Linked DNA regions of Homo sapiens: regions 2, 3, 4 and 5 are each linked to region 1. The links are contacts of gene promoters, found by promoter capture Hi-C in blood cells and fetal thymus (Javierre and others, 2016). All regions are on one chromosome and are shown on one strand. Each heading gives the region's core, a stretch centred on a gene start or on the middle of the fragment in contact. The rest is flanking DNA. Distances are from core to core; before and after follow the strand shown. Region 1 holds the start of IGF1 (insulin like growth factor 1). Region 2 has its middle 11 kb from the start of DRAM1-AS1. Region 3 overlaps WASHC3 (WASH complex subunit 3). Region 4 overlaps NUP37 (nucleoporin 37). Region 5 overlaps PARPBP (PARP1 binding protein).

Region 1 (5,183 bases), core at 1,917-4,416:
ATAAAATAGAAGAGGAGGTAAAAGCTCAACTGAACATTTACTGCATTTTTCTCAACAAGATCTCCGCATGGAAATCTTCCACCCCCTACATAGCCCAAAACACTGGGACTGGAAGAAGCATGTTATCATCCAGTTCTCATTTTTTTTTTTTTTTGGTTGTAAAATTAGTGGGGTTTTCCTGTTCAATATTTCCATTGGAAACCTCAACAAATCCAACCCACCTGGACCTCGTGGCATTTTTCAAAAGAACAAACCTGTGATTGATCTTGCAGAGCATACCCCCACACTGCGGGAATGGGCCAGTTCTAGAAAGTATGTTATTCTACCGAATCCTATTTCTCCACCCCTCCCTTCTTTGTTGCGTTCATAGCAATGCTGAAGGCTAAGCACCTGCAACTGTAGATGCCTTCAAGTTCTTCAGTTTTTGTGAAATCCAGGGAAAAAAATTACTCAAGTTATAGCCTTAGTGAATTTCAAACTTCATTAGATGTCAAAACTATATTTTTAATAGTTCTAGTATAACACATTTAAGTGCAGCGATACATATAAGTCTCTGGAACTTAAGAATTTAAGATTTTTTTTAAATAGATTTCTCTTTTTCTTTTTTTTTTTTTTTGCTGAGTTATATTGTCAGATAAATCTCAGTACTTACAGTTCTAGGACAAGACAGAACCTCTAGTGCATTTTCCTTTAGTGTAGGGAACAGTCCAGTACACCCACAGAGAACCAGAGAATTTTATGTTCCCACAAATGAAAACAATACCGAACTTGCTTAGGAGTTTAAAGTGTGAAACAAGTGGTCCCATATGTTCATTATTTCCTTGGCCTTTTATTTTGCCAAACACAAAAGAAATCAATAGAGAGAAAGGAAAGATATGATAGAAAAAAAAGGGAAGAATCAGAAAGACATGAGAAAAAAAGAAAAAAAAATCAGAAAACACTTTCTCAAAAATCATTCACAAACCCAAATTTTAAAAGTTCTTTTTTTTTTAATCTTAGATAAATGGAATATTAATTGATTCCAGATGTCTGGGCCACAATGAAAATGCCCTGTAAAATTTGAGGGCAACAGTCATAAGAAAATACTCACTGTAGGTGTAATCATTTTTGTTTGTTCCAGGTCTTTTACAGCAGGTCAGGGTGGGTATTATGAGGCCGATGTGAATAGAAAACTGAAGTCTTAAAAACATGTGCTGCTTTGTGGGTGGGGTTTGTGAAAGCATCTAGTTACATTTGGACACCCAGGCAGGTATGCTATTATGAGCCTGGGTAAACTGCCTTTTGTCCATTGAAACAATGAACAAATTGCACAGCTGGGATTTAAGTCAATCTTTTCCCCCCAGTCAAGCCACCTATTTCCATTGTATGCCTATTGTAGCAGCCCAGATAGTGACCCAAGCTCCAGTCCACTCCCTTACTCCCTTCCCCCGACTCACTCACTTGGAAATACCTTGAGAGTCAGAGTACAATCAGCTGGTGAGCTCTGCCTCTGGGCAGGACACCTTTACCCACTGAATTACATGTGAAAGACCACGCAGCTCCCTCAAACCACTTCCTGCTTCAAGTACAGAAAAAAGTAACAACTTATTAAGAGCTCCACTTCTGAAGTGTTCAGCATACACAGCATGAAAAGTGCATTTGGAAACAATTTTCTTAACTTGTAATTAATGCAGAGATAACGCTCCACAGCCTCTTTTATGATCCCCTAAGTAAGGAGACAAAAACTCCAGCTGCTAGATCACATAGTATGTATGCACAGTGACGTCATTTCTTTGAAAGCAAGGTGGCCTGCATGTGTTGGCATCTCAGGAACAGCAGAATCAGGTGCCTGACAAGGGTGTATCTTTAACTCCTGGAGCCACTTACTTGACTAGGGAAAGTCGTAGTGGTGAAGTGTTTGAAAGCAGCAACTGAATGCTGCACTAAGTGGCAGAGACGTCTTATGAATTGAGCCCTCAGGCAATTGAATCGGTGGAGCCAGTGACAGCAGCTTAAAAGCGCTTGCAAATTGAAAAAAAAACACAAGTCTTGAAGGATATAATTTTGCTGAGAATGGAAACTAGAACTACGGCCAGCAATCGGAAACGAGAAGTCGGTGCACTGACAGCAGCAGCCAGATTTACCTAAAGGGACTTCACGACACTGAATATAAAATCAGAGTTTTATAACACAGAACCCCAAGTCCAAACTTTGCCCATGAAAGTCCTCTTCTAAACAGAAAAGTTGGGCAAGCAGCTCTTAGAAAGTTTCTGCTTTCCATATACAGTATGTATTTGTTTAAATTATACAAATATGCAAGGTCAGCAAGAGTTGTCAAGGAGTTCTTTTTTGGAAGAACAAATTACACTTTACTCTAACTTTAACACTCTCTCTGGGCATAAGTGCAGAGTTCCGGGACCTTAGCTCCAAAGATCATATTTAAAAGCTTTAATATCATCTAAAATACAACCCTTCATATATAGCATGCCTTGTAAATAAAGTCCTGATGAGTTACACACACAGAGACACATACACACAGAGACACATACACACATGCAAAAGAACATGGTCTTAAAAATAAAACATCTGCACCTGCAAAAGAAAAAAAAAATCCCCAAGTTCATATCCATGCTCTATAGCCCTTAGCCATAGAGAGGATTTAAAGGAATCTTCTGTAATGACACCACGGAAGCCCTGCAGAAGTGGAGGATTTAGCATAAGTACCTTGCAATAGTTTCTACTCATACAGATATCTGTGCAAATGCATCCATCTCCCCGAGCTATTTTTCAGATTCCACAGAATTGCATATTCAGCAATTTATAAATAACTCTCGGTTCCGAAACAATGAAAATTTTAAAGTGAAGAACAGTTCTAGGCAGAAGCAAACAGTACACAATTTAAATAGAATTCCCCAATGACTTCAAAGAGTAAGAAATATTTACCTTCAAGAAATCACAAAAGCAGCACTTAAATAATTGGGTTGGAAGACTGCTGATTTTTCCCATTGCTTCTGAAGTACAAAGTCTGAAAATGAATTGGTTAGCAGGAATAATGAAGCAAAAAGAAATCCAGAGAGATGGGAGATGTTGAGAGCAATGTCACATTTCAATTTTGAGGACTTTATTCCATTGCGCAGGCTCTATCTGCTCTGAATTTAGCAGTGACAGTGAGATTTAGCAAACAGAAGAGGGATTTAGAGAAAATCCTCACATTTATCTACAAAACACAGACACTGTAGACAGGAAACAGCTGGGGGAACATTTGCCTTCTCTCTCTCTCCCTCTTCTGGCAAAGTTATTGAGTAAGGACTTTTTTGGGCATGGTGACAAATAACATCATACCTTTGCATTTTAAAACTAGAGCACAGAAGCATTTTTTTCCCTTAAAAGAATGTGTGTTAGTGACAGGGTTCGCAGACATTAAAATACTTATGCTGCCATAGAAAATAAGGATCTGTTTTCTGATTAACTTTCTGCTGGGCATGAAGACACAAACGTCTGCTAATACACCTTACCAGTATTAAAGGAATATGGGGGATGGGAGAGCAATTTTAGATTCTAGAGCAAATGCATTATTTAAAACAAAAAAAGAAAGAAAGGACGATAAGACCCTCTCCAGCAAACTCTACAATTTTAACCCTGAAGTGACTGGGGTAAAGTAGATTGGAAGACAGCACTCGGGTGACCCCTTGTCCCAGTTGCCAAGTGAGAGGTGTGATCTCATTTCCTAGAACCTATGGAGGGGCAGGCAGCATTGGATTGGTCCCTTTAGGGCACTGTCTCATACTTTTTCTCCTGCGATGAGGCAAAGACTATGCCGAGCTGTAAAACCCAACTGAAATAGAACATTTTTCTTTATTCTTCTACTAGGCTGCCTGTCACTGTCCCCTCCCCACCCCACCACTCTGGGAGAAGGGTACCTGGGGGGCAAACAATTTTCCTGTTGTTTGAATTTTCCATATAACTCAAACCTGTGTGTGTGTGTGTGTGTGTGTGTGTGTGTGTGTGTGTGTATGACAGAGGGAGTCTGTGTGCCAGAGTGTGTTTTCTTTCTCTGATTTTTGTGTATTCTAAATAACACCAGCTGGCTAGCAATACCCTCTCGAGGGTTATGATGTCATTCAAATCCCTCAACTGGGTGACTGGCCGGCAACATGGTCCAAGCCAGCTGTTTTGCTATTTATAATGTACACTTGCCTTTGCCATTGAGAATTCAGTTCTGATCTTTTGTCGATACAGTTTGTACCTATTTCCCTTTGGTTTTGTGAAGCAGTAGATAAGAAAGTGAATTATAAAATAAGGTTGCAAAAGCCCAGAGCAGACATACCTCTTTCCCTAGAGAGCTCTCCAGGCCTGGTTTCCCAGGAGTGGTGGAAATAACCTGGACCTTGAATTTTTTCTTTTTTTTTTTTTCCACATGACTCTCAGGGGACTGACACATCAACTGAAAACACAGTTCTGCTTGAAATCCTACTCTGGCTCTTTGTGTTATCCTGGGGCCAGAAATTTGTTTGTAGAAGTGGGTGCCCTAACAAAAAACAAACAAACCTGCTTTGTTTGGAAGGGGGTTGGGTTTGTTTGAGTCTTCTGTGTGGTTAATACATTGTAGCAATGTTTACCTTTCAGAAATCAAAGTTAGAAATCTGGAATTATGTTGTGTCAATGGTGCACTATGTTCAGCAACATTTTGTGAGCTCTACTATGTGCCCAACTACAACATCCCTAGGAAAACAAAGAGGAATAAGATATGGTCAAGTCCCTTCAGGGGCTTTCAGCTGAATGTCAGAGACAAAGAGGAAAACTTCACAGTCATATGATGGGCATGTGCTCTTTTAAAAACATGAACAGTGCACAATGAGAGGGAGTGACACATTCTCTGGGAAGACAGGGGAGTAAAATCTTTTGGAAAATCCAAAATGAGGGAGGCAGATTGTGTCATGAGAGGCTTTGGGGTACCATGTTGGGAAATTTCAGTGGGTGGGATTTGACCCAAAGAGCACACTAAGAGGTATCATCAAGAGGTGGCCTAGTAGGTGGCCCTGGATTATTCTTAATGCAGGGATTATCCACATGTGCAGATGTGTGAGTAATCCCTGCATTTAATAATAATCCGTGGCTTCCTTTAATAAGCTCTCTTTGTACACTTGATTTGTGACAAATCTTTTTCTTTTCTGCAGTTTTTGTGGATCACACCCTTTCTGAAA
Region 2 (5,183 bases), core at 1,213-3,712, 510 kb before region 1:
GTTCAACCGATTCTCCTGCGTCAGGCTCCTGAGTAGCTGGGACTATAGGTCCATGCCACCACACCTGGCTAAATTTTGTATTTTTAGTAGAGACAGGGTTTTACCATGTTGGCCAGGTTGGTCTCGAACTCCTGACCTCAGGTGATCCACCCGCCTCAGCCTCCTAAAGTGCTAGGATTATGGGCATGAGCCACTGTACCTGGCCATAATTGATTTTTAAAAAGGCGAAAGATCTGAATAAACATTTCTCAAGACATACGCATGGCCAATAGGTAAATAAAAAATGCTCAACATCACTAGTTATCAGAGAAATCCAAATCAAAACTATAATGTGATATCATCTCTCCATAAATGGCTTTTATCCAAAAGACAAACTATAAAAAATGCTGGTGAAGTTGTGGAGAAAGGCGAACTCTTGTATACTGTTGGTGTAAATGTAAATTAGTACAGCTACTATGGAGAACAGTATAACATTAAAAAAAATAAAAATAGTACTACCATATGACCCAGAAATCCCACTACTCTGTATATATCCAAAAGAAAGAAAATCAGTATATCAAAGAGATATCTGTACTCTCAGCAATATTCACAACAGCCAAGATATGGAATCAACCTAAGTGTACATCAGTGAATGAAAGGATAAAGAAAATGTGATCCTTATACACAATGGAATATTACTCAACCATAAAAAGTAAGATCCTGTCATTTGCAACAACATGGATGGAACTAGAGGACATTACGTTAAGTGAAATAAGCCAGGCACAGAAAAATAAATATTGCATTTCCTCACTCATGTGGGAGCTAAAAAAAAAAGACAACTCACGGAGACAGAGAGTAGAAGGATGGTTACCAGAGGCTGGGAAAGGTAACAGGCAGGGGTGGATAAAATGGGACTTGTTAATAAATACAAAAATACACTTAGATAAAGTGAATAAGAGCTAGTATTCAGTAGCATAATAGGGTGACTATAGTTAACAATAATTTATTGTATATTTAAAAATAACTAAAAAAAGTGGAACTAGAATGTTCCTAACACAAATAAGTGATAAATAGCTGAGGTGATGGATGCCCTAATTACCTGATTTGATCATTACACATTATATGCTGGTATCAAAACATCTCATGTATCCCATAAATATATATAACAATTATGAACTCATGAAAATAAATAAGTTAGCTTAAAAATGCTAGCTTTTTATAGGTCCTCAATATAGTGGAAAAAATGGTAAGCAGTAGGAATAAATATGTAATGCTAGAAAGAACCGAGAAATTTTTAAGGAGTGGGGCTGCTGGTAGCAATATTCCTTGTCTGTATTTGGACAAAAATGTTTGTGTTTTTGCAAGGCTGGGTTTGCTTTATTTAAATATAAACAAAAACAAAACAAAACAATTAAAAAAATAATAAATAAATATAAACAGCAACTATCTACATAAACTTTCACATACCTGTTGGAAAGAGGACAATTTCTCTAGAATTATACATCAGTCAAAAAAATTATTGTGTAATATAATTTACCTGTCTGTTTAAGCCATCCCATTGCAAAGCAGGGACACAGTCCTTGTGAATAAAAAGCAGACTAAAACAATTTTCACTTTCAAGTCAGTTCTTTCATAAAGGAATAAAACAGTGAAATCACAAAATTTCTTCATTCTCTTCCACCATATGGGTTTCTTTGAGGTTTAATAATATTATAAATAAAGCAGCACTGAGATGAAATACAAAACAGTGAACAACAATTTAGAAACATTTTGAAGGAGCAAGTATTATATTCTAGCGTTGCCAGGCTTTCAGCATAAGTAAGATAGAAAACAGAGCGCGAACTCTCATTTGTTCTATCAAGAAAGCATAAATATTGGGTTCTTATTAAGACATCCTCTTGCAGCTGTACACCAGCTCTCAACTATTAAAAAAGATTCTTAAATTCCCAGGGAAACAAAAGTCAATTTCAGTCATATAAGTTTGCATATAAACTTTGCTTTATTCCAAACATTTTTTCATCAAGGAATTTGGAACAACAATTTTTTGAAAGAGAGTCTTCAGTTCACCTATTACACCATTATAAATATTTGAATGACCTCCAGCAACTTTGCTTAGAAAATTTCAATGTCTGTATAACATGCCAATGACAGCGCAGCACTAGGGTCAATACATTTCATTATTTGGCAAGATAACCACTCATAGCAATAGATTGAAATTCAGATTGTCATTTTCATGTGTTTCACTTTCATCACAGCACACTGGATGGTTGCTCTTGACTTTTCTTGCCCTCTTGGCAAGATACTCATTTGTCAGATTATATTAAAATTTTGTTTTATCTGTTAAAGCTTAGAGAGTGAGCTAAGTGATACTGTTTTAATCCCAAATCAATATGTGTAGTCAGGTCTTGAAAGAATTCCAATCATTGTAGCCCTTGTTCATATTTTAGGTGGTTAATAATGCTATCGTGTCATTTTCCTTGGAGCTCATTTTATATATTCTGTTTGTAGGAATTATAGTGACAATTGATCACATAGCCTAAACAAGGAAATGGATGTGATATGCATTTTCTGGGTTTTGTAAGAATCTTCACTGGCAAAGTGAAATATTATATATATTTTCTTAAGCTTGGAGAAATAGAGTAGAGGTGTACTTCTCACACTTTAGTGAGCTTTAGAATCTCCTGGAGAGGTGGTTAAAACAAACTTGTAGGTCTCATAGCCAGAGATTCTGATTCAGTAGACCTGGGTAGAATTTGAGACTTTGGGATAGATTCTCAGTTGTTGCTGATGTTGCCAATTCAACTACCATCCTTTGAGAAACAATAAAATAATATGGAGTGGTCAATAGCAAAGGCTTTGCCATTAAACAATCTTGGGCTTAAATCCTGCTTTCTTGTTTAAAGATTTGTTGATTTGAGGTAATTTATTTCCACTATTTTTAAGCCTTTGTTTCTCATCTGCTCATTAGGGGTTTTGTATGTATTAAATAAAATGATGACTGTCCAGCACTTGATATAGTGCTGATAATAAATGACAGCCACAGTTATTAGAAATGTGGTCATCTCTTTTGCTGGGATCTGTCTGGTTAACCACGCAGTGCTTCTGCTTCATATCTTGGTGTATTTGGCAAATTATTTGTCAGTTATGTCTAGATTAGGAGTTATCTGATTAGTGAGCTAGCAGCTATTCAAGACTTGAATTGCTCAGGTGGGCCCCAAAACACTTAAATATCTTTATCTTTGGGCTCTCCTTAAACAGGAACTCCAACTAAACACTGTACTAACATTTTGTTTGGTTCTGTCCTTTAAATTATTTTCCATGTAAATAACTTTATAGTTCCACAGTTATGTCTTCTTATGAATGATTTTTAAAAAATGAACATCAGCTTATTTTCAAAATCAAACTCAAGTCTTTGGAGACTAATATCCTTTCTCTCCATATTTTGCTATTAAGAGGGCTGGTGTTCTGCCAAGGCAACGTATTAATAAATTTAAGCTTGAGATTTTCATTGTCATGCGAACGTTGAAATTGGCCCTCAATTACACAAAGCAGCCAATTCAGCAGGATACGTGAATTGGATTTATAACGAACACGTTTGTGAAGAATTACTTTTAAATCCCTGATTTTGTGGTTTATTTCTAATTCGTTCAAAAAGCATGATCCAGCAGTCACAAAAGTCTCAGCCAATTCAGACCAAGTTTATTTTGAGAAATACATGATTTTACTTTAGTCAAGTGTTAACAAATAAATTGGTTTTACATTTAATCATTTTTTCAGTTGTTCACGTAATACTAAATCCCATCTTGCTGGTAGGCACTGGGCTAGACACTAGGGAAAACACTTCATCCTCCCACAGCCTATAGTCTAGTGAAAAAGGTAAAAGTACAGCTGTTAGAACCTCATTTTAACAGGCTGATAAGTCTCCAGTCCTTATTAGTTGATAAGTGTTAGAAAAATATTTGTGTTCATACCCAATTACCCATGAATCTATTAACCATCACCCAAAACTTCACACACTTCACTAGGTGGTGTCTTCTAGATGTGGTATCCTCCAGGGTGTCTAGCCAAAGGAGAACTTTACATTTCCTATGGTTGTATTCGTAAAATGAACATAGAGACGGCAAATCAAGGCAGCTCTGTAGTTTGCAATTAGCTGTCACTTAAACTCTCTAGCAAAATGATGTGATTGAAGACAATAACAGTCTATACATTAAACTTGATTGGGGGGATTTTCATACAATGCAGAAATTTACATTCACATGATCTGTTATGAAATGAATGTTTGTGTTCTCTAAAAATGCATATGTTGAGGCCCTAATCCCTAATGTGATGCTATTTGGCAATGGGGCCTTTGCTAGGTAATTAGGGCTAGACAAAATCATGAGGGTTGGGGCCCTTATGATGGGATTAGTGCCTTTATAAGAAGAAACACCAGAGAGCTTGCTCTGTCTCTCTCAACCATGTGAGGACATAGTGAGAAGGCTGCCATCTGCAAACCAGGAATAGAGATCTCACCAGAAGCTGAATTGGTTGGCATCTTGATCTTGGACTTCCCAGCCTCCAGAATGGTGAGAAATAAATGTCTGTGGTTTAAGCCACCAAGTCTATGGATTTTGTTATGGCAGCCCTAGCCAACTAAGACATGATCTTAGAAAGATCACAGGGATTTGTACAAAATTACGGAAACGCTCTAAACTTATCTCTTATTATATCCAAATGGGGCCCCTCAACCCCAGTCTGCCAGGCCGGCTCTTTACCATTGCCTGAACACAATTTGCTCTTTCTTGCCTCTACTACATACTCCTCCTTGTGCTGTTTTCTTTACCCAAAATGCCCTCCCCCAATCTTCCACTTCTAGCTGAGAGGCTCATCTTTAAGAAATCTTGCCTGATTAGCCCTAGTCCTTTCCTAAATGATCCTTCATTACAAACTTCATGTTTCACCATGCACTCACATCTATCTCACTCTATTGTGTCCTTATGTTGGTTCAAGGCTGTAGGTCTTATCTCTTCAACTAGACCCTGAGCATTCCCAAGACAAGCCTAGGGTCTAGATGTTAAAAATCTTTTGTGTCCTCCACTGGCTCTCTTAGAGTATTGTGCACATCAAATGGGAATAAAACTTACTGAATGAAAATTGGACTGGATGCCAAGAGCCAACAAATGTTCTAAGGCAAATGAATCAAGTAGTACGGGGAAGCACAA
Region 3 (5,183 bases), core at 2,684-5,183, 420 kb before region 1:
GAGACCATTGCAGTGATTAAATTTGGCCCTTTTGACAGAAAACAGAACAATGCATTCCTAGGGATAAAAAAGGGGTGACTGCAAAGGAGCATGAGGGAATTTTTGGAGTGATTCTATATCTTGTTCTACAACTATTCTACATCTTGATTATGGTATGATTATGCATTTGTCCAATCTCATACTTAATGGTAAATTTTACTGCATATAAGTTCATACTCCAATAAACATGACTTTACAATTAAAACAAAAGAAATATGAAGGCTCATAAGAGATTGCTATGACCAATTATATGCCAACAGATTGGATAACCTAGAATGGATAAGTTCCTAGACACATACAACCTATCAAGACTAAATCATAAAGAAATAGGTAATCTGAACAGACCAATAATAAGTAGAGAGATCAAATCAGTAGTTAAGTCTCCCACTAAACAAAACCCCCAGGACTTGATGCCTTCACTACTGAATTCTACCAAACATTTAAAGAAGAACTAATACAAATCCTTCTCAAACTCTTCCAAAATACTGAAGAGGAGGGGAAACTTTCGAACTCAATTTAGGAGGCCAGCATTATCCTGATTCCAAAGCCAGACAAATCCACTACAAGAAAAGAAAATCAAAGGTCAATATCCCCAGTGAACATAGAAGCAAAAATCCTCTACAAAATACTGGCAAGCTGAATACAACAGCGCATTAAAAAGGTCATTCACCAGGATCAAGTCAGATTTATCCCTGGGATACAAGGATGGTTCAACATATGCAAATCAGTAAAGGTGATACATCACATTAACAGAATGAAAGACAAAAACCGTATGATCATCTCAATAGATGGAACAAAGGCATTTGACAAAATTCAACATCCTTTGATGATAAAAACTCTCAACAAATTAGGTATAGAAAGAATCTAGCTCAACACAATGAAGGCCATTTATGACAAGCCCACAGCTAGCATCATACGCAATGGTGAAAACTGAAAGTTTTTCCTCTAAGATGAGGGACAAGACAAGGATATTCACTCTTACCCCTTCTATTCAACATAGTACTAGAAGTCCTAGCTATAGTAATTAGACAAGAGGGAAAAATAAAAGGCATTGAAATTGGAAAAAAGGAAATGAAATTGTTTCTGTTCGCAGATGGCATGCTCTTATATATTGAAAATCTTATAAAAAATTCCACCAAAAAATTGTTAGAACTAACAAACTACTTTGGTAAAGCTGCAGGATATAAAATCAACATACAAAAATCAGTAGCATTTCTATACACTAAAAGTAAACTATCTGAAAAAAAAGAAAAAAAATCTCATTTACAATAGCTACAAAAAAAATACATAGGGGTAAATTTAACCAGTGAGGTGAAAGATCTGTACACTGAAAACTATAACACATTGATGAAAAAAATTGAAGAAGACACAAATAAATGGAAAGATAACGTGTGTTCATGGATTGGAAACATGAATGTTGTTACAAGGTTGACACCACTCAAAGCAATCTACAGACTCAATGCAATCCCTATCAATTTTCCAATAATATTTTCACAGTAATAGAAAAAAAAATCCTAAAATTCATACTGAACCACAAAAGACCCTGAACAGGCAATGCAATATTAAGCCAAAAAAACAAAGCCAGAGAGATCACACTCTCTGATTTGAAAATCTACCACAAAGCTACAGTAATCAAAACAGCCATAGACCAAGGAAACAGAATAAAGAGCCCAGAAATAAATCCATGCATTTAAAGTCAATTGATTTTTGAGAAAGATGTTAAGAACACAGAAAAGACAGTTACAGAAACATACTTTTCACAGATGTTAAGAATAACAGTCTCAATAAATCATTTTGGGACAACTGGATATCCACATGCAGAATGAAATTAGACCCTCATCCTTTACCATATAAAAAAATTTAACACGAAAAGGATTCAAGATTTAAATGTAAGACCTGAAACTGTAAAACTACTAGAAGAAAACATAAGGGGAAAGTTGCACGACATTGGTCTGGGCAATGACTTTTTTTGGATATAAACCCCAAAGCACTGGTAACAAAACCAAAAATAAATAAATGGGATTACATCACACTAAGAAGTTTGTAGAATCTGGATTTTAAATTATTTTTTAAAAATTATTTTAAAAGACTACGAAGCTTTTGCACAGCCAACGAAACCATCAATAGAGTGAAGAGAACCTATGGAATGGGAGACTATATTTGGAAACCATATATGTGATGAAGGGAACCTCTGTACACTGTTGGTGGGAATGTAAATTAGTACAGCTATTATAGAAAATAGTACAGAGGTTCCACAAAAAATTAAAAATAGAACTACTATATGATCCAGCAATCCCACTTCTGGGTATATATCCAAAGGATGTAAAATTAGTACATTCAAGAGACATCTGTACTTGAAAGTTCACTGCAACATTATTCACAATAGCCAAGATACGGAATCAAAAGTGTCCATCAATGGATGAATGGATTAAAAAAAGTGGTATATATACACAATGGAATACTATTTAGCCTTAAAAAAGAATGAAATCCTGTCATTTGTGACAACATAAATGAACTGGAAGACATTGTGTTAAATGAAATAAGCCAGTCAAACAGAGACAGATACTGAATGATCTCACTTATATATGGAGGATAAAAAAGTACAACTCATAGAAATATTGAGTAGAATGGTGGTTAGCAGGGGCTTGGGGTTAAGAGGATTGGGGAGATGCGGTTAAAGGATACAAAATTTCAGTTAGGCAGGAGGAATAAGTTCAAGAGATCTCCTACATGTCATGGTGACTGCTGTTAATAACAATATATTGTATTGAAAATTGCTAAGAGAGGCGATTTTAAGTGTGCTCACCACAAAAAAAAGTAAGTACGTGAGGCATTGCTTATGTTAAATAGCTTGGTTTGGCCATTCCACAATGTATTCATATATCAAAACATCATGTTGTACATCATAAAAATACAATTTTTACCTGTCAATTTAAATAAAGAAATAAGATTTTTGAAAAAGGACAAAAGGCAATAGACTACCTTTAAACTTCATGAGGTTTTGATGAACAAACTTTTCTCTAGAGTTCAAAGAAGTACTAGAATACAGATACAGCCAGAACAGCTGCAGAGAAGTTGAGACAGGAACAGGAGGAGGTTAAAGAGTGACTCATGAGGCTTTGATCATAATCTATCAATAAATGAGATGACTATTGTTTTCTTTGATCTAGTTGTCAGTAAACAGCTCTCATTCAAGAACCATTAGGCACTACAAAGGTGAAGGGCTATCCCTGTTTCAGGACAGCTCAAACAAGTTGCTTTCATAGGTGTGTTTACTTGTTGCTTTGTTCTTTATTTTTCAGCTTGATGATAAGGGCTATGGGGATAAGAGTATTTGCTTCTTTCTGCTAGTAATCCTGGGACAGTCCCTTTCCAGATACTTCTCCATCTTGCCCTGGTATAAAAATCGAAGGGTGAAAACCTTGGCTTACTGGTTTTTATTCAGTCAATTTTATATCCTAAATTATTTAGAGAGATAGTAGGAACGAAATAAAACTGACTGGAAGCAAGCACCTAGTTTCTGGCCATTAACATATAAAACTAAATTGAATTAAGCCCCTTACTCTACCAATTACTATATTTTACTTTGTCTTAGAAGGCAGAAGAAATGTTGATAATTAGACAAAACAATAACTGGAATTTCATACAAGTAAAAAATAGTTTTCCCATCTCCATGCAATTTTTATTAATAGTAGTAACACACTTAACAAAAACTCTAATTGCTAAGGCTATACCTTACATAAGACAGAATGTTCAACAGACTTACTTGTGAATATCTAAGTCCCATAATTTACTTTGCTCTTTCCTTAAATGCAATTTCAACCCATGGTTCCCATTGTCTTCCCCATCCTCTTTTGGCTTTTTAAAAGACAGGGATTCCCTGGATCCTGGATCTAGTACCTAATCCTCTTTTTTAAAACAAAAACAAAAACAAAACACTGAGTTTCTCTGTTGTCCAGTCTTGTCTCAAATTCCCGGGCGCAAGTGATCCTCCTGCCTCTGCCTCCCGAGTAGCTGGGATTACAGGTGCGCACTGCTGTGCCAGTTCTGGTACCTAATCCCTAGTTGGGTACTTAATCCTTACATCACAAGTCATTTGCAGAAAATATTTTCATTTCTATAATCATATTTGATGCCAAAGTTATGTTTCTAGGCTATCTCCTCTAGCCATCTTTTAGATCCAGAATGTAAAATAAATTTAAACAATGTGGTTTTGGGGTACGGGAACGAATGACAAATTGCAAAATAAAAACTGTTTTCAACTGTGAAATTTTAGAAGCCGGGCGCGGTGGCTCACGCCTGTAATCCCAGCACTTTGGGAGGCCGAGGCTAGTGGATCGCCCAAGGTCAGGAATTCGAGACCAGCTTGATCAACATGTTGGAACCCCGTTTCTACTAAATATAAAAAATTAGCCAGGCATGGTGGCGCATGCCTGTAATCCCAGCTACTCAGGAGGCTGAGGCAGGAGAATCGCTTGAACCCGGGAGGTGGAGGTTGCAGTGAGCCGAGATCGCGCCACTGCACTGTAGCTTGGGTGACAGAGTGAGACCCTGTCTCACAAAAAAAAAAAAAAAAAAAAAAAAAATTAGATTTCCTATTGTTCCCTTTAATCGCAATAAGCCTGACTGACCTATCTCACAGGGACCTCTAGAACACTAACTCAGTAGAGGAGGGGTGCAGGATTGATTTTAACAGAGTAAAAGAGAACCTAAGATGTGTTAACACAATTGGGTGATGAGAGGTCACGGTACATGAATAAAGACTGTAATTCTTGTTTTACTCCATTTGTCAGTCTCAGCAGTGAAAGGTGATTTCCAGGCGACTCTATAAACCAGTATCACCGGACCTACCTCCTCACAAACTGTAGAAAAGCGGTTGAGGAACTGTACAGTGTGCACCACAAATTGGTTTAGAAAAGCCACCGTTCTTTTCTGTTGAATAGCTGGCACCTGTGTTACGTAAAAACAAACATGGTTCATACAGGAGGAACGTACACAGTGCAAATCTTTTCATATTTGGACATAATCACGAGGCACTTTGCTGTGTGATATGAATTTCTTGAAGGACTGGGAATAGTCATTAACTTGTTTCCTAAGCTGTGGGTGGGGTGTCCGAAGATGACAGAGGTGCACAAAAGTTTGAG
Region 4 (5,183 bases), core at 1,144-3,643, 370 kb before region 1:
TCCCCTTCATATATACATCTATCCTATTAGTTCTGTCCTTCTAGAGAACCCTAATACATACTCTATGTGTGTTTAAACACGTATGTTATATTTTATACATGCAAATAAAGGGTAAGAAAAACTGTAAAACAAAGCTTATTCTACCTAATTCTTCTCCTTTGAATTTGTCCAATTATTATTTTGGGAATTCATTATTTATTTGCTCATAGGAAACTCTAGACAAATTTGCCACAATAATATCACTCATGTTGAGGGTCTCCTACGGATTTCCTCAGTTATAGCATAATGAAATCATAAAACTTTGTTCAAAATGTCATCTCTAAAACAGATAAAAGCTATTTTGGAAGTTGTTAAAAGAAACATCCCAACTAAAAGGGTTTGTAAAGAGGTATTAATAGCAAAATGAAGCCAAGTTCAGTAAAAATGTCAGCAAATAGAGGAGTTACAGTAATCAAAGAATACTTACTTAAAAAGAAAATTAATAATCTTACTGGGATCTAAATAAAACCAAACAAACAAACCCAGAAAACTTTATGGCCAGCCTTGTGTTGCCCCACTTTTCTTTGAATCCTTGCTGTTTCAGGGATATTTAAGTCCTTCTTTAATTGAACCAGAAAACCTCAGAGAACTGAAATAACATGAACAATGAATTCTCTAGCCACTACGCAAGAAAAGCAAGTAGGGATGGAAAGAGTAGAAAGGCAGGGAGAAAGAGAATTTAAGGCAACTACATGCTAATGATAAGCCATCATGAAGGATTTCTAAATGTAAGATAAAAATTAATGATGATAAGAGAGATGCTGAGTTATACCTTAGTCATGGTGATAGACTACTATTTATTTTAGAATACTATAAAAAAGCAAAGTAAAGAAAGTACAGAGAGTTACTATAGTATAATCACAATTATGTACAATTATGTACAAAAATGAAAAGGGTATTGGGAGTATAGGTGGCATTCTTCTCCTTATTTTCTGTGTTTTCTAAATTTTATTAAGCATTCATTATTTTATAATAAAAATAATTTATTTGAAAACAAGATTGTGCCTTCAGGTTGCTCTAAAAATAGTCTAAAATTAATGGCCTGCTAATGTCTTTTGAATTTGTTACTGAATTTGTATAGTTCCAAAAAGGTCTTGAGACAGTTTACCAAAAAATAAGAAAAATCCAACCAAACAAAAACACCAACCAGAAATGATGAAACACAGCAAATTCACTAAAAAGAGGACAGGAAAACAAGTACTAAGCAACAAGGAAAGCATAGAATACAACAGCTGAATATGTAGATTAAAGAGGTATCACAAAACTTAAAACCAAGGGAAGAAGACTGTTTCCACAGCTTTAAAAATTTAAAGAATCAAAGAGACTTGTTCTTGTTTAGGTCTAGATATTGTGACCACTTTCTTTTAATATAAAAGGAAATCAACAGCACACCAGCTGTTGGCAATGACATTACGTGTGCTGACAAAAGCTATTGTGTAGATTATTCAATTAAGTTAGCTAAATATCGGTAAAGGCTTCTAGGAAAAAACATGCAACATCTTCACAACCTATAAGAAATCACACAAAGATTTCTAATAGAAGAAACAAATATACCAAAAAAGCGTCAGCATTATCACTCATCATGGAAATGTCATTGTGGCATCAACCAGAATGGCTAAAATTAAAAAGACAGGCTGGGCACAGTGGCTCATGCCTGTAATCCTAACACTTTGGGAGGTCAAGGTAGGTGAATTGCTCGAGCCTGGGTGCTCGAGACCAGCCTGGGCAACATGGCGAAACCCCATCACTGCAAAAAATACAAAAAATTAGCCGGGAGTGGTGGTGCATGCCTGTAGTTCCAGCTACTTGGGAGGCGGAGGTGAGAGGGAGGGTTGAGGCTGAGCCAAGGGAGGTTGAGGCTGCAGTAAGCTGTGATTATGGGTCTGGCTGTCAGCCTGGGAGATAGAGTGAGACCATGTACCAAAAAAATAAAAAAAAAAAAAAGAAAGATTGACAATAGCAAATATTGGAGAATAGGCCAGGTATGGTGGCTCATGCTGTCATCCCAGCACTTTGGGAGGCCAAGGCACATGGATTGCCTGAGCTCAGGAGTTTGAGGCCAGCCTGGGCAACAGGCAAATCCCTGTCCCTACAAAAAATACCAAAATTAGCCAGGCATGATGATGGGCGCCTATAGTCCCAGCTACTCAGGAGGAGGCTGAGGTGGGAAGACGGCTTGAGCCTGGGAAGCAGAGATTGCAGTGAGTGGAGATGGTGCCACTGTACTCCAGCCTGGGCAATAGAGCCAGACCTTGTCTCAAAATGAATGAATGAGTGTTGGAGAGTAGGAAGACCACCCTTAGATTATTGGGGAAAAGACAAAATGGTAGAACCACTTTAGAAACTGGCATTTTCTTAAAATGTTAAACATACATCTACCCTGTGACTCAGCAATTCTACTCCTAAATTAAATCATATAACCACCCAAAGCAGTATTCAGCAAAAAATAATAACTAAAGCCTAGAAACTGTATTGGTACCTATTTACAGAAGAATGAATAAACAGACTATGGTCTATTGATACACTGTAATGGAGTACTACTTAAAAAGCACTGGTATACATAACAATGTGGAAAAATTGCAAAAACAAGCCAGACACAAAAGACATTCTGTATGATCCCACTTATATGAAGTTCTAGAATAGGCAAAACTGATTTCTGGTAATAGAAATCAGATCAATGGTTGCTTCTGCAGGGAGTGGGGTACAATGATTAACTGGGAAGAAGTATGACGAAACTTTCTTGGGTGACAGAAACAGTGCATGAATAGGGTGTGGGTTGTACAAATATACGTATTTGTCAAAACTGATCAAACTATACCCTTAAGAGCTGAGAATTTCAGAGTATCTAAATTATCCCTTAATTTAAAAAAAACGAAGTTAGCTTAATAGTTGATAACTTTTAGTTCCTAAGTACTGTCTACTAAAAGAAGACACATCTTTTAGATTTGACATTTGTAGAAGGCAAGGCTAGTGTTTTGTAACAGATCTTAAATAACCTAACATATTCTTGCCCCTGTAAAGAGGGCTTCAGCAGGCATTGCTAGGATTTTTTTCTCAGAAAACCATCATTCCTTTTAAACACTTTCACAAAAACTGAAGTCCAGGACCAGAACTTACAGATTTATATACTGTTGGACAAAAAAATGTGATCTTGGCCTATGGGTGGGGAAGGAAAGCTCATTAATGTCTCAACCAAATTTAGTTATTTTAAGTTATACTTTCAATAAAGTTGTAAATTCAGTGAACAATCTGTAAAGACCTTGATTCAGATGAATCTCACGTAAAAGGTTTTGTAGTTTGGCTCAAACACATGGTCAAGGCATCATAGTCATGGCTGTATATTTAAATCACAAATTCAGATGATAAGCCTAAATTATTAAGTAGTAGCAAATATCAAAATATCTAATATCTTGGATTGTGGAAAATGGAAATTGAGAAAAAAGTATCTATGATCAGACTTCCAATCATGTAACACAATCAAAGTACATTAGTAAGGAATGCATTTGGTACTGTTAAACTTACTTGATTACTGGAGGCAATGAATCAAGTCTAGTCTCTGGGCTCCAAGCTATGCCATCAACCCTGACTCCATGGTGAAATGTTCGAAGTGTTTTATACTGAATGCCTTCAACGTCTGCTTCTTCTTCCTAAGCATACACAGTAAATGTTTTAATAAGTAATGAGAACAAACAATATAATATTCTGTATTTCATTATAATGAATTTATCAGGAGGTTATGCTTATGCTTTTGAAAAGTTCAAAAGCAAATTACATATTAAGATTTAACTAGTTCATTGAATTAAAAAAAAATCCAAAGTTGTCTAAGCCTCACAAAATAACTCTCTAAGGCAACTAGAAACAAATGGTAAACATGTTCTACTTTATCTTAGGAGGCATTTCATAATAAGTTCAATGAAAATGGACTGCTTGGTCAGGCGTGTTGGCTCACGTCTATAATCCCAACACTTTGCGGGGCTGAGGTGGAAGGATTGCTTGAGCTCTGGAGTCTGAGACCAGACTGGGCAACACAGTGAGACCTGTGTCTACGTTATAAAAAAAGAAAACAAAGAAAATGGAATGCTCTAAAGAATCAAGATATTCTAGGTAAATGAATTACCAGAACCGGATTATCTACTGACAATATTAAAAAAATACACTGTACATTCTCACTACATGGAAAATACTTTGGGACCTTATAAAGACCTCAAAGTCTTTATAATCAGTGTCAATGATTTTCATGTAGTGTTACATGTGGCATTATATGTGTGTAAGATGCTACAAATAATTCATCTGAACTATTATTGTTTATGAATAGTGAATATGTAATAAATAATCTGGCTAATTTAGTTTTAGATATTTGATTCTGGGAATAAATGCTTAATAAAGTTGGCTTATTTATCCAGTTCAGCCCTACTAAAATGATTTCAGTTTATCCTCACGGGAAGGTGAGAAAAAAAATCAACTTTAAAAGTCAAGCCATCTGTCGCTGGCAATGGAGACAATAACCTGAAAAGTTCTCCCATTACAACATTGCAAAAATTCAAATACAGACAAGCAAACGACTACCAAGGTATGCAGCTGTTATAAGGGTATCTGCCTACATGCAATGATTTAAAGCTTCAGTTTGCAAGAGAGAAGAGACAAATCCTAGTGCCTGCACAAGGAAGGATGCCAGATCAGAGATTTCTGCATAGATCCAGGGCCCGATTAAGGGGAAAGCAGGAAAAAACAGACAAACAAAAAGAAAATCCTGCCATGCAAAATACCTACCATGAGTAAGGGAAGGATACTTAGGGGGCTTCAAAAGAATTGCTAATGTTCCTTTTCTTAAACTAAGCAGCAGGTATACAGGGATCCATCTTATTACTCTTTATGCCTTTATGGATAACACATTTTTTATAAGCATTAAAATACTGCTCAGCACCATAGGAAAGGTAAAAAAGAAAATGATAAAAAAATTTTGCAATTTTAAAAATAAGTAAATCATCCTTCTGTTATTTAAATCAATACCTGAACTGGGTTTGAGACTAAAGAAGGCCAAATTTTCGCGACAAATTTGTCCAAGGAATCTTCTGTGCTAACTACAGTTTTCTTTATAAAAGTGTATGGTATTATAAAGTATCAGGGAAAAAATCCAGCAGGTG
Region 5 (5,183 bases), core at 1,457-3,956, 320 kb before region 1:
TGGTAGGATGTCCGCTGTGCTCCTGATCTAGCCAGGCGCTCATTGCTGCTCCCAAGCGGCTAAAGGCTTGCCATTGTTCCTGCATGGCTAAATGCCCAGGTTCATCCTAATCGAGCTGAACACTAGTCGCTGGGTTCCACGGTTCTCTTCCGTGACCCACGGCTTCTAATAGAGCTATAACACTCACTGCGTGGCCCCAGATTCCATTCCTTGGAATCTGTGAGGCCAAGAACCCCAGGTCAGAGAACAAGAGGCTTGCTGCCATCTTGAAAGTGGCCCGCCACCATCTTGGGAGCTCTAAGAACAAGGACACCCTGATAACACCATGATCACTCATATTTGGCTCAGAATTAACCTTCCTTTTTTTTTTTTTTTTTTTTTTTTTTTTGAGACGGTGTCTCCTTCTGTCACCCAGACTGGAGTGCAGTGGCGCAATCTCGGCTCATTGGAAGCTCCGCCTCCCGTGTTCATGCCATTCTCCTTCCTCAGCCTCCCGCGTAGCTGGGACTACAGGTGCCCACCACCACACCCAGCTAATTTTTTTTTTTTGTATTTTTAGTAGAGATGGGGTTTCACCCTGTTAGCCAGGTTGGTCTCAATCTCCTGACCTCGTGATCCGCCCACCTTGGCCTCCCAAAGTGCTGGGATTACAGGTGTGAGCCACTGCGCCCGGCCCAGAATTAACCTTAAATATTTTACGGGGCTTAACTCTTGGCAAAGTTTCTGTGATTAATAAAATCACCATTGACAAGATGAGAATTTAAGAGTGTTGAAAAAAGTAAAATTATATTCAACATATTTTAATTATTTTTGTTTTATTTATTTTGCTTATTATTTTTTTGAGGCAGAGGCTTACTGTGTTGCCCAGGCTGAAGTGCAGTGTGGCACGATCTCCACTTACTGCAACCACTGCCTCCCAGGTTCAAGCGATCCTCCCACCTCAGCCTCCCAAGTAGCTGGGATTACAAGCGTGCACCACCACGCCTGGCTAAGTTTTGTATTTTTAGTAGAGACCAGGTTTTACTATGATGGTCAGGCTGGCTTCGAACTCCTGACCTCAAGTGATCTGCCTGCCTTGGTCTCCCAAAGTGCTGGGATTACAGGCATGAGACACTGTGCCCAGCCAACATATTTTAGAAATATGATATGTAAATGGTCTAGAATGCATTTACTTCCAAAATCACCTGTTCCAGTAAGTTAACACATTTGGTGAATCACCTTCATTTTTGACAAACATTGCTGAGGTAGATTCTTCTATATGTCCCATGTTAAATAGATTGCACTTAAAATATATATTTTATCAGTGCCCTCAAATACTTGTATGTCTCTTGTAATACTCTTGTATGTCTCTTGTAATACTCTTGTAATACTCTAGATTTAATAAAGTGTTTTATATGTGCATCTGATATTTTTTCTGTCCTATTTGAAAGTAAGTTGCTGACATGTGGGTCCCTGGAATTCTTTAGCGTACATTTCCTAAAAGTAATGGCATAACCGCAATATAAGAAATAAGAAAATTTAAATAAGTATTTTAAAATATCATTTACTAACTTCCATATTTAAATTTCTCCATTTGTCCCCAAAATGGTTTTATATCTCCTTAGACTCTTTTACTCCAGAAGAATTCCCCTAATCTTTTTTTTTTTTAATTTTCTGATTAATTCCTTGTGGTATTATTTAACTTGTTTCTCTATTTGCTGTATTTCCAATAAACTGGAAGTGATATCTGAAATCTTGCTTAGATTTTGGTTTAATATTTCCTAAGAAATACTTCTTAACTGATGCAGAGTATTTCATTTTATATCTTATTGGGAAACAAACTCAGGTTATCCTGAATTGCCAGGTCTCTCCAGTACAAAGATGTAGTTTTTCCTTTGCTGTCAGCAAAGATCTGTGAGGTGACACTTTGGCACTGTATAAATAATCCTGTTTCTCAATAACCTTTTATCTAATGGTTTTAAGCATTGATGATCCTGACTTGAATCAGTTATTTCTGTAGTATCTATAGAATAGTGAGCTTCTGGCCAGGCACGGTGGCTCACGCCTGTAATCCCAGCACTTTGGGAGGCTGAGGCGAGTGGATCACAAGGTCAGGAGATCGAGACCATCCTGGCTAACACGGTGAACCCTCGTCTCTACTAAAAATACAAAAAAGTAGCCAGGTGTAATGGTGGGCGCCTGTAGTCCCAGCTACTCTGGAGGCTGAGGCAGGAGAATGGCGTGAACCTGGGAGGCGGGAGCTTGCAGTGAGCCGAGATGGTGCCACTGCACTCCAGCCTGGGAGGGAGTGCGAGACTCCATCTCAAAAAAAAAAAAAAAAAAAAAAAGAATAGTGAGCTTCTAATTCTGTTATGTCTTTACATTAATTACTTGCCATTTCTCAATAAAGCTTTATCTTATCAAATGAGATGAAGTACCCTTCTCTAAAAATCTCAGGGTAACTCCTCAATTCTCTACCAATTTAGGGGTTAGTGTAATAGTTATATATAATATAAGCAAATTAGATATTTATTCTTTTATTGCTCTCCTTTTTGTGTGTCTATTGTTTGGATTCATGAATTTATATTTATTCACTGTTTTAAAATGAGTTACACTCATTAATCTTTGATGCTAAAATAGAGGAAGCTGCTTCAAGCAGGTTTTTGTGTCTTTTTTACATGCTCTAGTAGACTTTTCAAGCATTTTCCTCTTTTCTGGTACAAGAAAATATCCCAAGCCCACCTTGAATGTTTCCTGCCCAGACCTGGTTCCTTTTAGAGATTTGTAACTATTTTCTCTTGCTTGAAATTAATTTTTCACTTACATTTCCTTTCTTTTCCCTTGATGCTCCAAATCTTGACAAAGTGATTGCCAAATTGCCTGATCTTTTCTCGGTGGCGCTTAAGCAGTGTATTTGTGTATCAAAAGGGTAGATTACTTAAAGATCTCTTTTATCTATCCTGTATGTACTACAGGGAGGAAATTATAATTGTTATATTTGTATTTTTAAAGAGGAATGAACCAATTTGTATATGTGAAAAGAATTAAGCTTTTAGAACTTCGGCTTATAAAGTTTAAAGGAGTATCTGTGACTAAAGATTATAAGCATGTAGTTTCCTGATTTAAACAACACTGATAGTTTCATTGTGTTAATTCTCTAATTTCTAACTTTTGCTTTCTTGGATTATATTTTCTAATAGAATTTTACCTACTAGTTCAACTAATGGATTTGATTTTCTGAGGAGTATTAAATTGGCAGCCATCTTCCTAACCATGCTTCTGTTACTTGCAGTTTCTAATTTTTCTTTTTACAAGGTCTTTTTGGAAGTCAGTGTATTTCTTTTTTCCCCTCTGAGACGGAGTTTCACTCTGTCACCCAGGCTGGAGTGCAGTGGTGTGATCTCAGCTCACTGCAACCTCCGCCTCCTGGGTTCAAGCAATTCTCCTGCCTTAGCCTCCTGAGCAGCTGGGATTACAGGCCGTGCCACCACGCCTGGCTAATTTTGTATTTTTAGTAGAGACAGGGTTTCACCATGTTGGCCAGGCTGGTCTTGAACTCCTGATCTCGTGATCCACCCACCTCGGCCTCCCAAAGTGCTGGAATTACAGGCGTGAGCCACCGCACCCAGCTGGAAGTCAATGTAGCTCTAATTAAAATCCTAATGTGAATTTTTGGGCTTCAGTCTTGCAGAGAAATATTTTGACCATCAAATGTGTTTACTAATATGACACCAGTCTTCAAGTAGGTGAATGGATTGAATTTGAGAAACAATATTTTTGTTTCCTTATTTTATTTTACTTCATTTTATTTTTCCTAAGGTACTAAACCATTGCTTTTAAAATTCTGAAGTAATGAAGGGAATAATAGAATAAAGGCCAGAAAAAGAAAATCATCAGTTAAAAAAAAAAATCTACTAAGTATCTTAGTTTTTGTCCAACTTTTTTTTTGTCAGTATATATAAGCATTTATGCATTGGCAAACAAAAGTTAAAAAAAGACCCTGTATAAATTGTTAATCTTCTCAGCTTAGAAAAACTGACTTTCTTCAAACTGAGGTTGAATATCTGCCTCTCAGTAAGAAGAGATAGGAAAAGAAACTTGGAATTATCAGAAAGCTTAAATAAAATTGTCCAGCTTCTAAACAAACATTGCAAATACTTTGTGGTATGGATATAATCAGTTTATTAAACAAATAAACAGAACAGTATCCTTATTTTTGGTGTTTTGGTAAAGGCTTCAATCTTGTGGATGTTTTCAATTTAGGCCCTTGCTCTTGGACATCATAACTATACTTATGTGGACTGCTTTTCCAGGGAACCTCTTTAAAACTCACTTGTAAATACAAGAGCAAGGAAACCATAACAGCCATGTTATCTGACCATAATAAGAGGGATAGATTTCCAATTGCAGCCATGAGCTAAAAGAAACACTCTAACTGTGAGGACTCCAAGATGTTTTTCCCTGAAGTTTGCCCAACATCACAGATCAGAAGGACAAAATTTGCTAACCTTAAAGAGCAAGTTGTAGATGTGAGAGCTTAAGCCCTGGTTTTGTACCCAATTAGGATCAGGTATATACATATTTGTTAAGTTCTTGTTATTTTTGAACAGCAGAAGCACAGTGACATAGAGATTGCATTAAGTTAAATGTAGGAAAAGTTTCTGATTACAATGTGAATGTCACTTTTTCTCTGCTTTGATTTTCGGTAAATTGTGTTATTCTTCTCAGATGTCAAAGGAATACAAAGAATTGTGTCTTAGACTATTGCACTGTGAAGTTAAAATGGAAACTCATATTATAGACTTGTGTAATAGAAGTATTGTGATTTACTGTGAAAGTAAAGATAAAAGGACATTTGAAATATGAGCAGAGGCTGGGCATGGTGGTTAACGCCTGTAATCCCAGCACTTTGGGAGGCTGAGGCAGGCAGATCACCTGAGGTTAGGAGTTTGACACCAGCCTGACCAACATGGAGAAATCCCGTCTCTACTAAAAATACAAAATTAGCCAGGCGTGGCGGCACATGCCTGTAATCTCAGCTACTTGGGAGGCTGAGGCAGGAGAATCACTTGAACTTGGGAGGCTGAGGTTGTGGTGAGCCGAGATCGTGTCATTGCACTCCAGCCTGGGCAACAAGAGGGAAACATCATCTCAAAAAAAAAAAATATATATATAATCAGAAAACTATATTATACATTATTTTA

Evidence for each region. The method cuts DNA at HindIII sites, captures the fragments that hold promoters and counts their contacts. A CHiCAGO score of 5 or more calls a contact.
Region 2: a fragment that was not itself captured here is called in contact with the fragment with the promoter of IGF1 in region 1 in 1 of 17 cell types (megakaryocytes); the score reaches 6.1 in megakaryocytes.
Region 3: a contact is called between a fragment that was not itself captured here and the fragment with the promoter of IGF1 in region 1, in 1 of 17 cell types (megakaryocytes). The highest score is 5.8, in megakaryocytes.
Region 4: a fragment that was not itself captured here is called in contact with the fragment with the promoter of IGF1 in region 1 in 1 of 17 cell types (megakaryocytes); the score reaches 5.1 in megakaryocytes.
Region 5: a fragment that was not itself captured here is called in contact with the fragment with the promoter of IGF1 in region 1 in 3 of 17 cell types (endothelial precursors, megakaryocytes and total CD8 T cells); the score reaches 8.6 in endothelial precursors.

What each region holds. Positions count from the first base shown.
Region 1 is chr12:102,477,397-102,482,579 of GRCh38, forward strand. IGF1 (insulin like growth factor 1) reads right to left here and starts at 3,167. Exons shown (of 4, transcript NM_000618.5): 1 at 2,923-3,167. The coding sequence starts at 2,985. LINC02456 (long intergenic non-protein coding RNA 2456) reads left to right here. Exons shown (of 13, transcript XR_007063427.1): 11 at 1-5,183. RefSeq lists enhancers at 1,623-1,882, 1,973-2,022. The HindIII fragment of the contact is 6,669 bases long and covers 2,424-5,183 here.
Region 2 is chr12:101,972,182-101,977,364 of GRCh38, forward strand. No RefSeq gene overlaps it. Among named protein-coding and RNA genes, the nearest start is that of DRAM1-AS1, 11 kb to the left of the region's middle. RefSeq lists an enhancer at 2,365-2,534. The HindIII fragment of the contact is 279 bases long and covers 2,324-2,602 here.
Region 3 is chr12:102,056,358-102,061,540 of GRCh38, forward strand. WASHC3 (WASH complex subunit 3) reads right to left here. Exons shown (of 7, transcript NM_016053.4): 2 at 4,891-4,989. Among named protein-coding and RNA genes, the nearest start is that of WASHC3, 3.0 kb to the right of the region's middle. The HindIII fragment of the contact is 3,599 bases long and covers 2,135-5,183 here.
Region 4 is chr12:102,108,547-102,113,729 of GRCh38, forward strand. NUP37 (nucleoporin 37) reads right to left here. Exons shown (of 10, transcript NM_024057.4): 3 at 3,562-3,686. Among named protein-coding and RNA genes, the nearest start is that of NUP37, 9.0 kb to the right of the region's middle. The HindIII fragment of the contact is 4,522 bases long and covers 133-4,654 here.
Region 5 is chr12:102,155,817-102,160,999 of GRCh38, forward strand. All of the region lies in intron 4 of PARPBP (PARP1 binding protein), which reads left to right. Among named protein-coding and RNA genes, the nearest start is that of PARPBP, 38 kb to the left of the region's middle. The HindIII fragment of the contact is 639 bases long and covers 2,388-3,026 here.